Linked DNA regions of Homo sapiens: region 1 is linked to region 2. The links are contacts of gene promoters, found by promoter capture Hi-C in human tissues and cell types (Jung and others, 2019). All regions are on one chromosome and are shown on one strand. The core of a region is centred on a gene start or on the middle of the fragment in contact, and the rest is flanking DNA. Distances in the headings are between cores, read along the strand shown.

Region 1 (6,528 bases), core at 1,149-3,648, 570 kb after region 2:
TGTCTTTACAGTAGCATGTTTTATAATCCTTTGGGTATATACTCAGTAATGAGATGGCTGGGTCAAATGGTATTTCTAGTTCTAGATCCCTGAGGAATCGCCACACTGACTTCCACAATGATTGAACTAGTTTACAGTCCCACCAACAGTGTAAAAGTGTTCTTATTTCTCCACATCCTCTCCAGCACCTGTAGTTTCCTGACTTTTTAATGATCGCCATTCTAACTGGTGTGAGATGGTATCTCATTGTGATTTTGATTTGCATTTCTCTGATGGCCAGTGATGATAAGCATTTTTTCATGTATCTTTTATTTAAAAATCTTATACATCAATATTTTTAAACAAATACAATATATAGAATGCTGCTATAAATCAGTTAGGCTTATTTTTAACAGACTAGGATTTATTCATCAAAATTATTATTTCAAGGTAGTCTTTAGGAAGGCAATGCAGTTGTCCAAATGATGCTACAGTTGTTTAAAACATTCAAGAGTTTGTTTTGGAGGATATGACATTGTTTCCTTCAGAGCTTGGAGAACAATCATGTTTTGTAGTTACTATATATGTATTTTTTTTTACTGTGAATTTATTATCCAAATTGAGTGACTTTCTTATTTACCATACTTGACTCTAAATGGCCTTTAGCTGCTATTAAAATTTAAATCCACCCTCAAATGGTGATTATTTGGCATCTGAACATTCAAAAGAATGTGCCATAAACTCTAAAAACAGTTCTATAAATGGACTTGCCAAATATTTTCAGTGGTTTAGAATAACTGAAAAAGAAAAATGGAACTATTCTTTTTTTTTTTTTTTTTCTGAGACAGAGTCTCACTCTGTCACCCAGGCTGGAGTGCAGTCACATAATCTCAGCTCACTGCAACCTCCACCTCCCCATTTCAAGCAATCCTCCCACCTCAGCCTCCCAAGTAGCTGGGACTACAGGCGAGCGCTACCATGCCTGGATAATTTTTGTATTTTTAGTAGAGACAGTTTCACCATGTTGGCCAGGCTGGTCTTGAACTCCTGACCTCAGGTGATCTGCCCTCCTCAGCCACCCAACGTGCTAAGATTACAGGCATGAGCCCCTGTGCCCAGCCTGAATGGAACCATTCTTATCTGCATATATAAATTCTGGTGATTTGCTCAGTGTCCATTAACTGCATGCATGACCATATGCTAGGGGGTATGAAAACGCAGGATTTTGTGCAGCTTTTCAAATCATGCCTCCTTGTTCTGTTATCAGCACATTTTTAGAAATGTTTTCTGTACCTTTGTGGTGAGAGAAGTTGCATGTCCACGCTTACAGGAATGATGAAGGAAAGTTTTCCTTAAAGGCGCAGTGTAACACTCTTTGTAACTGAAAAAAGAAAACGAAATTAATTCTCTCTGGCAGATTTATGCTACAGCCAAAAAATATTTAAGACACAATGTTTTCATCCTTTATTCTGAAATTATAGAAATAAATGCTTCATAAATGGAATTCAAATTCAATGTAATGGATCACTAAACATGATGTAAAGACAAGAAGGATATTTTATTATGTATTATAAAAGGAATACGTGATTTTAGTTTATAAGAAACCTTTATAAAATAATATGAAATGAAACATCTCAGTCTCTAGAGAAATTCACAGTTGACTGTGTCATTCATATCCTTGAAACATTTAGAACACATAGCATTTTTCTGCAAATAGAATACACATTATTCAAATTGTTCTTCACCTTGTCTTTTTTAATTTAAAATTTATCTTGCAGATCTTTTATATCAGAGTATATTTACTTGCCTCTTTATTTTTAATAGATACATAATACTCCATGGTACCCCCATACCATGGAGTATTATGTATCTATTAAATTGATAGAGACTATCTCATTTCACTAACTCAAGTATGGAAGACATTTAATTGCCTTTATTTTTCTTTTACTCAACCTGATTTTATCTTAGGATTCTATTCTCCTGAGTAGTCAAAACGTGATCTGTGTGAGTTCAGGGTTTTCCTTCATGGCATTTGTCTGAGTTACCTGAGGTTTATATAGAACAGAGGGTATAGGGCATGAGTATGGCATCTTCTCCTTGGTTGTTGTCTTTCCAAGCAGACGGATGCAGAGGTGTGTATTGTCCTATCTGGTCCTCGGTCACTGATTACGTAGATCTTTGCTGATCATCCCGGGATCGCATTTCAGTCCTGTCAGAACCTGCAGATCTCTTTGATATGTCTACGTTGCTCTCAGACACAGGGAATTACTCTGCCATGCTGGATTTGGGGGAAATCTTGCAAGCTCTGTCAGATTTTAGTTACACCACACAGCTCTTCCTACTCTATTCTTTCAGCATTATGTCAGGACACTGCCAAAATTGTGGATCTTGTCATTTTCCAGGCAAAAACAAGAAGCAAGTTTTCTTTTCTCTCAGACTTCATTACCTCCCACTCTTGAACCCCTGAATTCAGTCTTAAATTGAAGGCTCCTTTCTGGGGCACATATATGCTTTCCTTCTAACTCCTCTTCTCCCAACCCAGGGATTTTTTTTTTGATACCAGGATTATTTTTTTATTTAGCAATATGTCTTAGAGACTTTTTCGTGGCAGGACAATAAATCTGTCCCCATCTTTTGGGCAGCTGCTTAATATTCTATTGTGTGGAATTTCATGCATATTTATTTCTTCTTTCGTCCTTCAATTTCCTTGTTTTATTTTTGCTTTCTTTAATTTTTTTCTCTGAACGAAACAATATAGATGCAGAAAATGTACCCAGTAGTACAAAGTTCAAAATATGTGAAATAAAAAGTAAATTTTTCCTTTCTGTCCCACTCCCCAGAGACCACAACTTTTAACAGTTTCTTATTTTTGTTCTTTTGGTGGTTTCTATTGTAATTTTAAGTGTTATGCTTCTATTTACTTTTAAGTCTTTATCAAAATACTAGTTTCCATAGCTAAAAAAAAGAAAACAGCCAAAAAAATACTTATAATGAGTAACATTAATTTAATGGGTCCATAGGATGGATCAGAAGCTTAAACACATGCTCAGCACATCATCTTGAACCAAAAGTCTGAGTAGGCAGGTTGACATCATGGTTAACGTGAACTCTACAGGCAGTCTGAGTTGTAATTCTGGCTCTGTCACTTTCTGACTGTGCAGTCTTGGTCTCTGTGAGACTCATTTTCCTCATCTTTAAATTTAAGCTAAAATCATACCTAGCTTATAGAGTTTTCCTCAATTAAAGAAAATGTTTTGTGTAAAATACACCAAAATTTGGATTCCACTTATGGCACCTACTAACCACATGTTGACCATGTCACCTTAGACTTGTTCTCAGACATCATTAAAACTGGGACTCGTAAGAGCTCTCTCCCAAAAAGTTGTGTGAGGATTCCCTTAATGAAATATGGATATGTAAAAGTGCCTGGTATATAGCAGGCACTTCAGAAAGGCTAGTTTCTATTTTTCAGTCCTGTTAGGAATGAATAATTGCCCCAGGCGTGGAGATCTTGGATAATTTTATTTTTATTTTATTTTATTTTATTTATTTTCCTTGTATTTTTAGTTGACATGTAATAATTGTACATATGCATGAGATACTGACTGGTATTTTGATACATGTATATCAAACCAGAGCAATTAGCATATCCATTACCTCAAACATTTACAATTCCTTTGTGGTCTGAACATTCATAATTCTTTCTTCCAGCTTTTTTGAAAATATACAATGATTTATGGTTAGCCATATTTATCCTACAATGCTATAGAACCCTAGAACCTATTCCTCCCAGCTATATGTAATTTTGTATCTGTTAACTAACTTCTCCCTATTCTCCCCTCTTCCTTACCCTTCTGGGCCAGGGAATTTTTAATCCATGGTTGCAGGTAGGTAAGTTTCTCTTATTCACTGTTCAAGCTTCCAAATATTTTCTTGATGTCAGAGTCTAGGCTTTTGGAACTCAAAAGCCAGACATTCTCTATTTATGTGTTATTTGCATTCTGCTGTGTCATTCATCCCCCAAAGCAAGGCATGCAATCAATATACCAGCTGAAAAAAATTCAAGCAAAAAATAAAAAAGCTGACATTACAGAATGTTACCTTATTACACGTATATATGTCCTATTTATGATTCCCTACAGGAAGTCACTTATGTTGTTTCCATTTTTGTTGTAATTATTTTTCCATAAGTTATTGGGGTACAGGTGGTATTTGGTTACATGAGTAAGTTCTTCAGAGGTGATCTGTGAGATTTTGTTGTGCCCATCACCCGAGCAGTGTACACTGCACATATCTGTAGTCTTTTATCCCTCGCCCCCTCCCACTCTTTCTTCTAATTCCCCAAAGTCCATTGTATTATTCTTATACCTTTGCATCCTCATAGCTTAGCTCCAATTAACATCCTTGCCCACATAGCTTAAGAATTTATGTAAGAATATAGACAATAAAAATCCTAGCATTGGAATTCCTGGGACAAAGGGTAAGTGTTTTTAAAATATTGATGAATATCACCACATCTCCCCTTCAAAAAGACTACACTATCGCAATCTTGTATAGAAGTGCCTGTCTCTCCATAGCTTCATTTTCTAGGGTTTATCACATATTTAAACTTCTTTCACTCTGATAGCTGAAAATATGATCTCTTGGTTTTCTGATTTTCCATGTCTTTAGTTATACGAGTGATTGAACATATTCTCACAGATATTCTGGCCTTTTGCGTCTTACATTCCCTGAACTCCTTACTGATGTGCAAAATGTTTTGTTACATAATCTTAAAGTGCATTAAATAGAATTTTAAAAATCATATATTTATTTACTTTTGTTTGGGAAGGCAAATTACACAGAATTTAAGGCAACTACTTCCCAGTTTCTCCTTCATTTGACAGCAACTGAATATTATATAGGGATAGGTAAAAAAAACAAAACTGAGGATGAAAAACTGAGTCACTAACACAGAGCTAACAATTATGCGTTGACAATGTTATCATATCTTCACACTGCAAATGCAGAGCTAATTCTCATCAAAATGGGATTTGTTCTAATACTCACATGATAGCAGCCATGAGAGACAGCTAACGTAATCAGTGAATGTCCCTTGAGCATGTGTAATTATGCCAAGATTCCAATAACTAATTAGCACAATGGATTTTGGTTTCAATTCAAATGTTGCAGAGCATCTATTTCACATATCTTATGTTGTCACTGTCTCAAACAGTTTCCACAACAATCGATAGAACTCCACAAAGAGAAGCTAAAAGAACACACATATAAACTTCAGAATGAACAAATGAGTACTGATTACCAACTGCATGATTAATTTTTTCTCAACACCTCGATTCTGTAGCATCTAAAATATCTGATTTCTCACTCTTTCAACCTTCTCTGTGTCCATTTATTATATTTTGTAATTCATACTTATGCATCTCTTACCCAAATTAGCATACTGTCTTCCAGCTAGAAGGCACCTTAAAATCTGAGAAACACTTAGGTTCCCTGCAACCACCACACTTCACCCGTATCTTCATCACAATTGCTACCATGTCCTGAAGCCATACCAAGTGCCAGGCAATACTGCGAGGTATTTATTGCAAGTCCTATTTTATAAATGGAGCCTCATGTTCAGAGAGGTTAAAAAAACTTGCCCAAAGTCAGCATTTGGTAAGTTGCAGAATCAGCATTAACAGGTTTTGGGGGTCTGATGAATTCTGCAGGGAACAAGGAGGGAGTTTTTAATACAAGCTGTGGCATTTCTTGGAACAGACCTTTCTGGAACTGCTACTTAATAGCTCTCAATCCCAAGGCCCCTCTGTGCATCACCTTTCCCCTGGGCAGTTAGGTATCCCTTCAGTGCTCTGGCCAGCTCTGTTTAATCCTACTTACATTGTAAGGTGGGTGAGGCAGCTTGTGTTAAATAATTCAAACACCAAGGAAGACACCATATGAGGCATCACCTGGGTTCCTGATTCTCTGCCCCATGTTTTGGCCACATTCTCTTCATGATGGAAATGGCCCTAGATGGACTCCTTTCTCTGCAGCTGCTCCTTCTTCGTCAGAAACTGCACTTCCCAGTGTTCTGACCCTTCACCTCACGGTATTTAGGCTGACTCGCTGAGAGAGCGGGTAAAATGCCTTTCCCTTAAGAGGCAGAAAGGGAAGAAATGAGGTTTGGGAAAGAAGGATTGGAAGGAGAATTAATCCAGTGGAAACAGACCAGTGGTCATCCAAGTGTTAGAGCTGGATGACGGAGCCCTTTGAAAATATCTCAAGCCAACAATTTGGGGAAAGCAACACTCTCAGGTATACATACACTGGGCGACCTTTTGGGATAGTGCCTTGCCCAGCTCAGCACACTCCATAGGCAGAGACGCCCTAACCACTGAACTTTATGCTTCATAATTCAGCTCTAAGCAAGCCTGATAGTTGAGTTCTTCCTTATCCTTACCAGAAGTAAGTCTAAAATTTCACCCAGGGATTTTAAAACATGGGGAGTAGCTGTCATCCTACTTGGAGGCTTTAGATTGAACATCCCTGATTTTATTTAATTTCCTA
Region 2 (6,378 bases), core at 1,031-3,530:
TGTTTAACTATTCACTGATTGAAGGATACTTGGGTTGTTTCCAGTTTGGGGCTATTATGAATAAAGCTGCTATAAACATTTATCTATAGGTTTTGTATGAACATAAGTTTTCATTTCTCTGGGTGAAATCCCAGGTTTTATATTATGCTATTACGTTGTATTAAATATATAACATATATTTCTAATATGGATTAAAACAAATTTATAACCATTAACAATGTTCTTCATATATTACCTAAAATATCTCATGTACCATCAGTAGCATATGTACTACTCTCCAGGAAAACACTGTTCTAAACAGAACCCAAATCATTCAGCCTTTTTCTGTAATTATATATGGGAAGTGGTTCAGTGACAGCCTAGACACTGGAGTTGAATGGTATTGGTTTAACTCAGGACAATTCCTAACTCTGTGACCTTGGGCATGTCATGTAACCTCTATAAGCTTTGGTCTTCTCATTTGAAAATGGGCATAATCTTTTCAGAATTATGAAAATAAAAGGAAATAATTCATGTGTTTGGAACCTTAAAAAGCATTCCATAAATGATACTTTTTATTACCATGTGGATCAGAACAGTGGGGAAAAGCCATTAACTTATGGGGAAAATCCATTAACTTAAAAGGCAAGCAGGGAGCCCACACTAGAGGGCAAAATAAGGGAGAAGCTAGCAGCCTCCCTTCTGGGACCAAGGGCAGGGTTCTGCAAAATGTACATATATGACTTCTAGGGGGTGCTATTCAATTTCATCCTTAGACTTGTGTATAGTTATTATAATGATTTTCTGGCAGATGGCAGTAAAATGTCCTGAGGAGGGAGCACCATTTCCTAATTCACCCAGAGATAACTTATGGGTAGGATTAATCTCCCGTAGACCCCTCTGAGACTCCTTTAATAATAATTTAATTTTTAAGTGATTCTACTACTATAAACATGTACACACATACACATACTGTGACACAGAACAATGCAAATACAGTTTCAGGAGATTCAGGAATTTTGAAGACCACCCATGTTAAAAGCCCAGTTCTAAGTGGTCTCAGAATCTCTAGAAGGTGTTTCCCATTCCCATCCTCCCCACTCTCATCCCCAATCTATCTAGAACATAATTAACAAAGGTGATTTAGCTCCAGAGCCTAGGAACACACTGCTGCAATTTCTGATATGAGCAGAACCCTCCCCTTCTTAAGTTTTTAAATATTTTTGTGTTGGTACTGAATTTATTTGGTTGTATTGCTTCCCCCGGAGTGCCTACTTTTCATTGAAAGTGGAAATCTCTGCAGTATTTTATTTTGTCCATGGAAGTTCACAAGCTTGGTCTTTGATGCTTCCAGGACTCATTAAAACACCTCACTTCTACATGTCTGAACTATAGCCCATGGACCTGGTAAGAGAGAAGCCCAAAGAAATTGGAAAATAAATCACCACACTGACTTTCCAAATTAAAATATATTATATTTTGGATGTTTCATACCTGTCTATATGGTTTTGTCATTGGCAAAAAAATAGCAAGTCTAAGGCAGTTTTAACGTTACATTAAACAATGTGTCCATAGTGAAATGTGATTAGTACATATTTCAGCAGCCCAAATTGCTGGGATAGGAGAAAGAAAGCACTGATCGTGGACCTATTTCGAAGAATGCACTAATGACTTTTCAAAATAATAGTATTTTCACGGGATGTGAGATGTCCAAAATTCTGATGCTGAAATATCAACATAGGATCAGAACTTATTTTAGTCTCCTATGCCACATTGAAACTTAATTTCGAGTGGAAAGGAAAGGTTTTCCCTGTTACAATTAAGATGTTTCTGATCATAAAATGAAGCTTACATTGTCACACTAGATTTCTTGATCCAACGCAGTACCCTCCCCGCCAATCCATCCAGAGTCCTCATTCCTAAATGCAATGCTTAAAAGGACATGCCACTATGCCAAACCCAAAGACTCTCATTTGACAGAAAAGGAAATGAATCTCTGTTACCTTTCTATCCCCTTCCTTTTGAATGAGCCATTTTTCTTCTTGAGTTGCTGGAATCTTCGGCACTGTCCAACTTTTCTGTAGGCAATCTTAAAGGGTTCTGGTAGATACAGCTGAGGTTGGGCCATTGCTCTCAACTTCACCTGTAGTAGCCGTTTTGGATTGTTTTAGTTCTTGAACTTACAGACTTCAATACAAAATCATCCAGTGACTGAATGTACTGTCAAGGTGTGGGCTATTCGGAATAAAATATGTAGGAAATTTTTAGAGTCTTTCCCTTATTCCCTTCCAGGTGTTAGAGACATTATTTGTGGGACTGGCCCTGTTTACAACTTCACAGAGGTCACCAGTGATGTATTTGACAGAGCTGTGTGAAATTCCATGGACCTTTGTGGAACACTTCACAGATTCTTGAACAAGGCAAATACAGAAATGATGATCTGATTGCCTCAATGCTGGCATTTGGATAGAAAAAAAAAATCAAACAACAACAACAACAACAAAAAACACCCACACACTAATTGACCACCACATTCAGAAGTGCGTATTTGAACTCTGAAGTGGTAGGGACCTATAGGAATACCAACGATACGCTGATTAACACAAGTTGAGCTTCTGTTAGATCTCTCAGTTACAGCTGGTGAATGTTCTCTGTGTCCTGTGGGACACATATGACAAGGCCAGTTGTTGTTTGGACATCTCAAAATGTACCCCAAGGGTGGTTTTCATTACATCTTGGAATTTTGCAGTGGTCTCTCAAAGTACATTGCTAAATTGAGGACCTGATCCACCCCTCCCTTCCAACATTGCCCCATTTATTTCGTGGTGAAGAGCGAATTCTGCCTGTGATGGAACTTCTCACCACAAGGTGGCAGCAGACACTAGGATTTATTCCTGTTACCCTCTCGCGGTTTGAGTTGTTCAGTCAAATAACTAGATGCTTAACAAGAAAAACTCCTCTAGAAAGGTTCTGGGAGTTACAAGAATTACTCTGCTTTCTGTGTTTGCATTAATCAATAATCTGGAGCATACTTCTCAAGCTTTCAAGTGCACACAAACTTCCTGGAGGTCTTTTTAAGATGCAGATTTCGATACAGTACATCTGGGCTGGGATCCAAGAATTTGCACTCCTAACAAACCCGCAGGTGACGCTGATGATGCCAGACTGCACTTGGAGTAGTGAGGGTCTTGTATGTTTCAGTACTGGGGAAAAGAGCTTTAAAATGGTCTAGAATGAAGTGTATAATGTTAAGGGGCTAAGAGAGTGGATTTGGGAATTATGCATGAGTTCTCATTTCTAGCTTAGCTATGTGACCTTGGCCAATTCATTTTAACCCACCCATGCTTGTTTTCTCATCCCTAAAGTGGGACAACTCATAGTGCCCAAGCCATAGTTTTATGGCAAAATTCAAGTGAAATAGAAATTCCGCTTCAGCAGGGAATGAGACCCAGGAATCCATATTCTAGGAGAGTGGGTGCAGATGTTCCTCTGTCCCTTATTTGAGAAACGCTGAAGTAGAGCATATCTAATATGCCTTGGCCAAATGGACATATGCTCCTCCCTGGTCTGTTTTTCCTCATCTGTTGGCATCCTCAGAGCACAATAAATAATAGGTGCTTGAATAAATGAATACATGAATATTTTCTTTAGCAACAGGGCAATATTTTTCATGCAATTATTGGCACTCCTGCCTTAATTCTGTTGTATTTCATCAATTATCTAGATGAATGAGATGAATTTTATGCTAGGAAAGACAGCTGTTTTTTATTTGTGCATGGGTGTCTATGTACATGTCTCTGTGTGTGCATGTCTGCATGTATGTGTGTATGTAATAGGCTGAAACACTTGCTGCTGTGGCATCTGTGACAAAACTTGTAGGTTCCCAAAGGAGTCCTGAAGCAGATGACAGAACTAGAAGGAGTGGGAAGGGGGTGGGGAAAGAGTTAGAGTATAGAGAGACATCAATTTTGAGCTGTGTCTGGATTTACATTCTAGATCTACCCCTTCCAAGCTTATGGGTCCTTGGGCGGGTAACGAAAACCTCTTTGGACCTTCATTTTCTCGTTCGTAAAACAGGAGTAATAACTGCTACCTCCCAAGCTTCTTTGAGTCATTCAGTTATTTAACAAATATTTGAATGCCTAGTGGTTCCCAGGCACCACCCTAGACACCACCCTAGACACCAGGGATACTGCAGTGAACAACATACACAAAATCTCTGAACTCATATAACTTAATATGCTGTGGGAGATGCAGGTAACAAGGAAATGAACATTTTAATTTCAGCTGGTAGTAAATGTTATGAAAAAAGTAAAAGAGGATGATGGGATAGAGTGACTGAGGATGAGGAGTGACTTTAGATGGAGCGTTAGGAAAGCCTGTCCAATGAGGTCATTGGTCCTGAATGCTGAACGGGGAAAAGAGCCAATCGTGTGAAAATTTGTGTGACCCAGGCAGATGAAACAGCATGTGCCAAAGCCCGGAGGTGGAAGAAGCCCAGTGTCTTTGAAAATGTGGAAGAAAGCGGTCAGGTGCGATGGCTCACGCCTGTAATCCCAGCACTTTGGGAGGCCGAGGTGGGTGGATCACGAGAGCAGGAGATCGAGAACATCCTGCCTAACGTGGTGAAACCCCCATCTCTACTAAAAATACAAAAAAATTAGCCGGGCGTGGTAACGGGTGCCTGTAGTCCCAGCTACTCAGGAGGTTGAGGCAGGAGAATGGCGTGAACACGGGAGGCAGAGCTTGCAGTGAGCCGAGATCGCGCCACTGCACTCCAGCCTGGGCGACAGAGCAAGATTCTGTCTCACAAAAAAAAAAAAAAAAAAAGAAAAGAAAAGAAAATGTGGAAGAAAGCTAGGGTGGCTGGAGCAAAGAGGTAGATGTGTGTGATAAGCTGGAGGGAGGACCAAATCTCTTGAGTCCTATAGATCAAATTAAAGGTTTTGGTCTTGATCTTCAGAGCAATGGGGAGTTGTTGAGGTTTTTTTGGTTTGTTTGTTGTTGTTGTTGTTGTTTAAACAGCATCTTACTCTGTCACCCAGGCTGGAGTGCAGTGGCACCACGCTCACTGCAACCTCTACCTTCTGGGTTCAAGCGATTCTTGTGCCTCCTGAGTAGCTGGGGTTACAGGCACGTGCCACCACGCCCAGCTAATTTTTTGTATTTTTAGTAGAGACGAGGTTTCACCGTGTTGCTCAGGCTGGTCTGGAACTCCTGAGCTCAGGTGATCCACCTGCCTCAGCCTCCCAAAGTGCTGGGATTACAGCCTTACTGAGGGTTTTTAGGGAACTTGTTCATATATTTATTCAGGGAAATGGAATTCAGTTGTGAAGAAAATGACTAAAATCCTTGCCCAGGAATTACAATTCTAGTGGAGGACACAGACACCAATATGTTAACCAATAGAAAATTGTTTCAGGTACTGACAAAGTATGCTATGAGACAAATAGAAAAAAAAAAACAAAATCAACAAAGAAAAAAGAATTAAAAATAAATAAATAAAAAGAAAAACAGGCCAGGCATGGTGGCTCATGCCTGTAATCCCGGCACTTTGAGAGGCCGAGGCAGGCAGATCACGAGGTCAAGAGATCGAGACCATCCTGGCCAACACGGTGAAACCCCGTCTCTACTAAAAATAGAAAAATTAGCTGGGCATGGTGGCACACGCCTGTATCCCAGCTACTCAGGAGGACGAGGGAGGAGAACCTCCCGGCTTCACGCCTCCTCGCTTGAACCCAGGAGGCAGAGGATGCAGTGAGCTGAGATCAGGCCACTGCACTCCAGCCTGGCGACAGAGCAAGACTCTGTCAAAAAAAAAAAAAAAAGAAAGAAAAGAAAAGAAAAAAACAAACAAATAAAAAGTAGAAAAACGTGGTAGAAAGTGACTGGGAGTGGGCACTCCTCCAAAATCATCAAGAAAGATCTCTTAAGGAGGTGGTGTTTGAAGTGAGACATTTAATGTTGAAAAAGAGACAAACTATGCTGAGATCTGGGAGAGGTATTTCAAAGACAGAAAACGACATGAGCAAAGGTTCACATGCAGGTGCAAACCAGGCATGTCTGAGGGCAGGAAGAAGAGCAATGTGGTGGGAACATAGGTGACATGGGGAAGGCATAGTTATGCATACGTTTTTAAAATGTTGCTGTGTGCAGCTTGGAGAATACATTGGAGAGGAAAAAGTGAGTGTTGAAAAGTCATTAGGTAGGCACTTGGTCCAGGCCGGCAACAGATGGGGGTGAGGAGTACCAGAAGTGTGCAGATCCAGGCAATATTTAAGAAGTTAAATACTGAAATGAATTGGGATATGGGGGAGATACAGTTTGGATATGTGTCCCTGAAATGAACTGGGATATAGGGGATGATACAGTTTGGATATGTGTCCCTGCCCAAATCTC

Evidence for each region. Contacts are between HindIII fragments. The study calls those that stand out against the background at their distance.
Region 1: a contact is called between a fragment that was not itself captured here and the fragment with the promoter of C3orf49 in region 2, in 1 of the 25 tissues and cell types used here (dorsolateral prefrontal cortex).

Annotation. Positions count from the first base shown.
Region 1 is chr3:63,247,331-63,253,858 of GRCh38, reverse strand. It overlaps a transcript of SYNPR not described here. Among named protein-coding and RNA genes, the nearest start is that of SYNPR, 28 kb to the left of the region's middle. The HindIII fragment of the contact is 7,290 bases long and covers 1-6,043 here.
Region 2 is chr3:63,815,201-63,821,578 of GRCh38, reverse strand. C3orf49 (chromosome 3 open reading frame 49) reads right to left here and starts at 2,280. Exons shown (of 7, transcript NM_001355236.2): 1 at 1,983-2,280. The coding sequence starts at 2,107. RefSeq lists a silencer at 2,814-2,933. The HindIII fragment of the contact is 1,936 bases long and covers 1,570-3,505 here.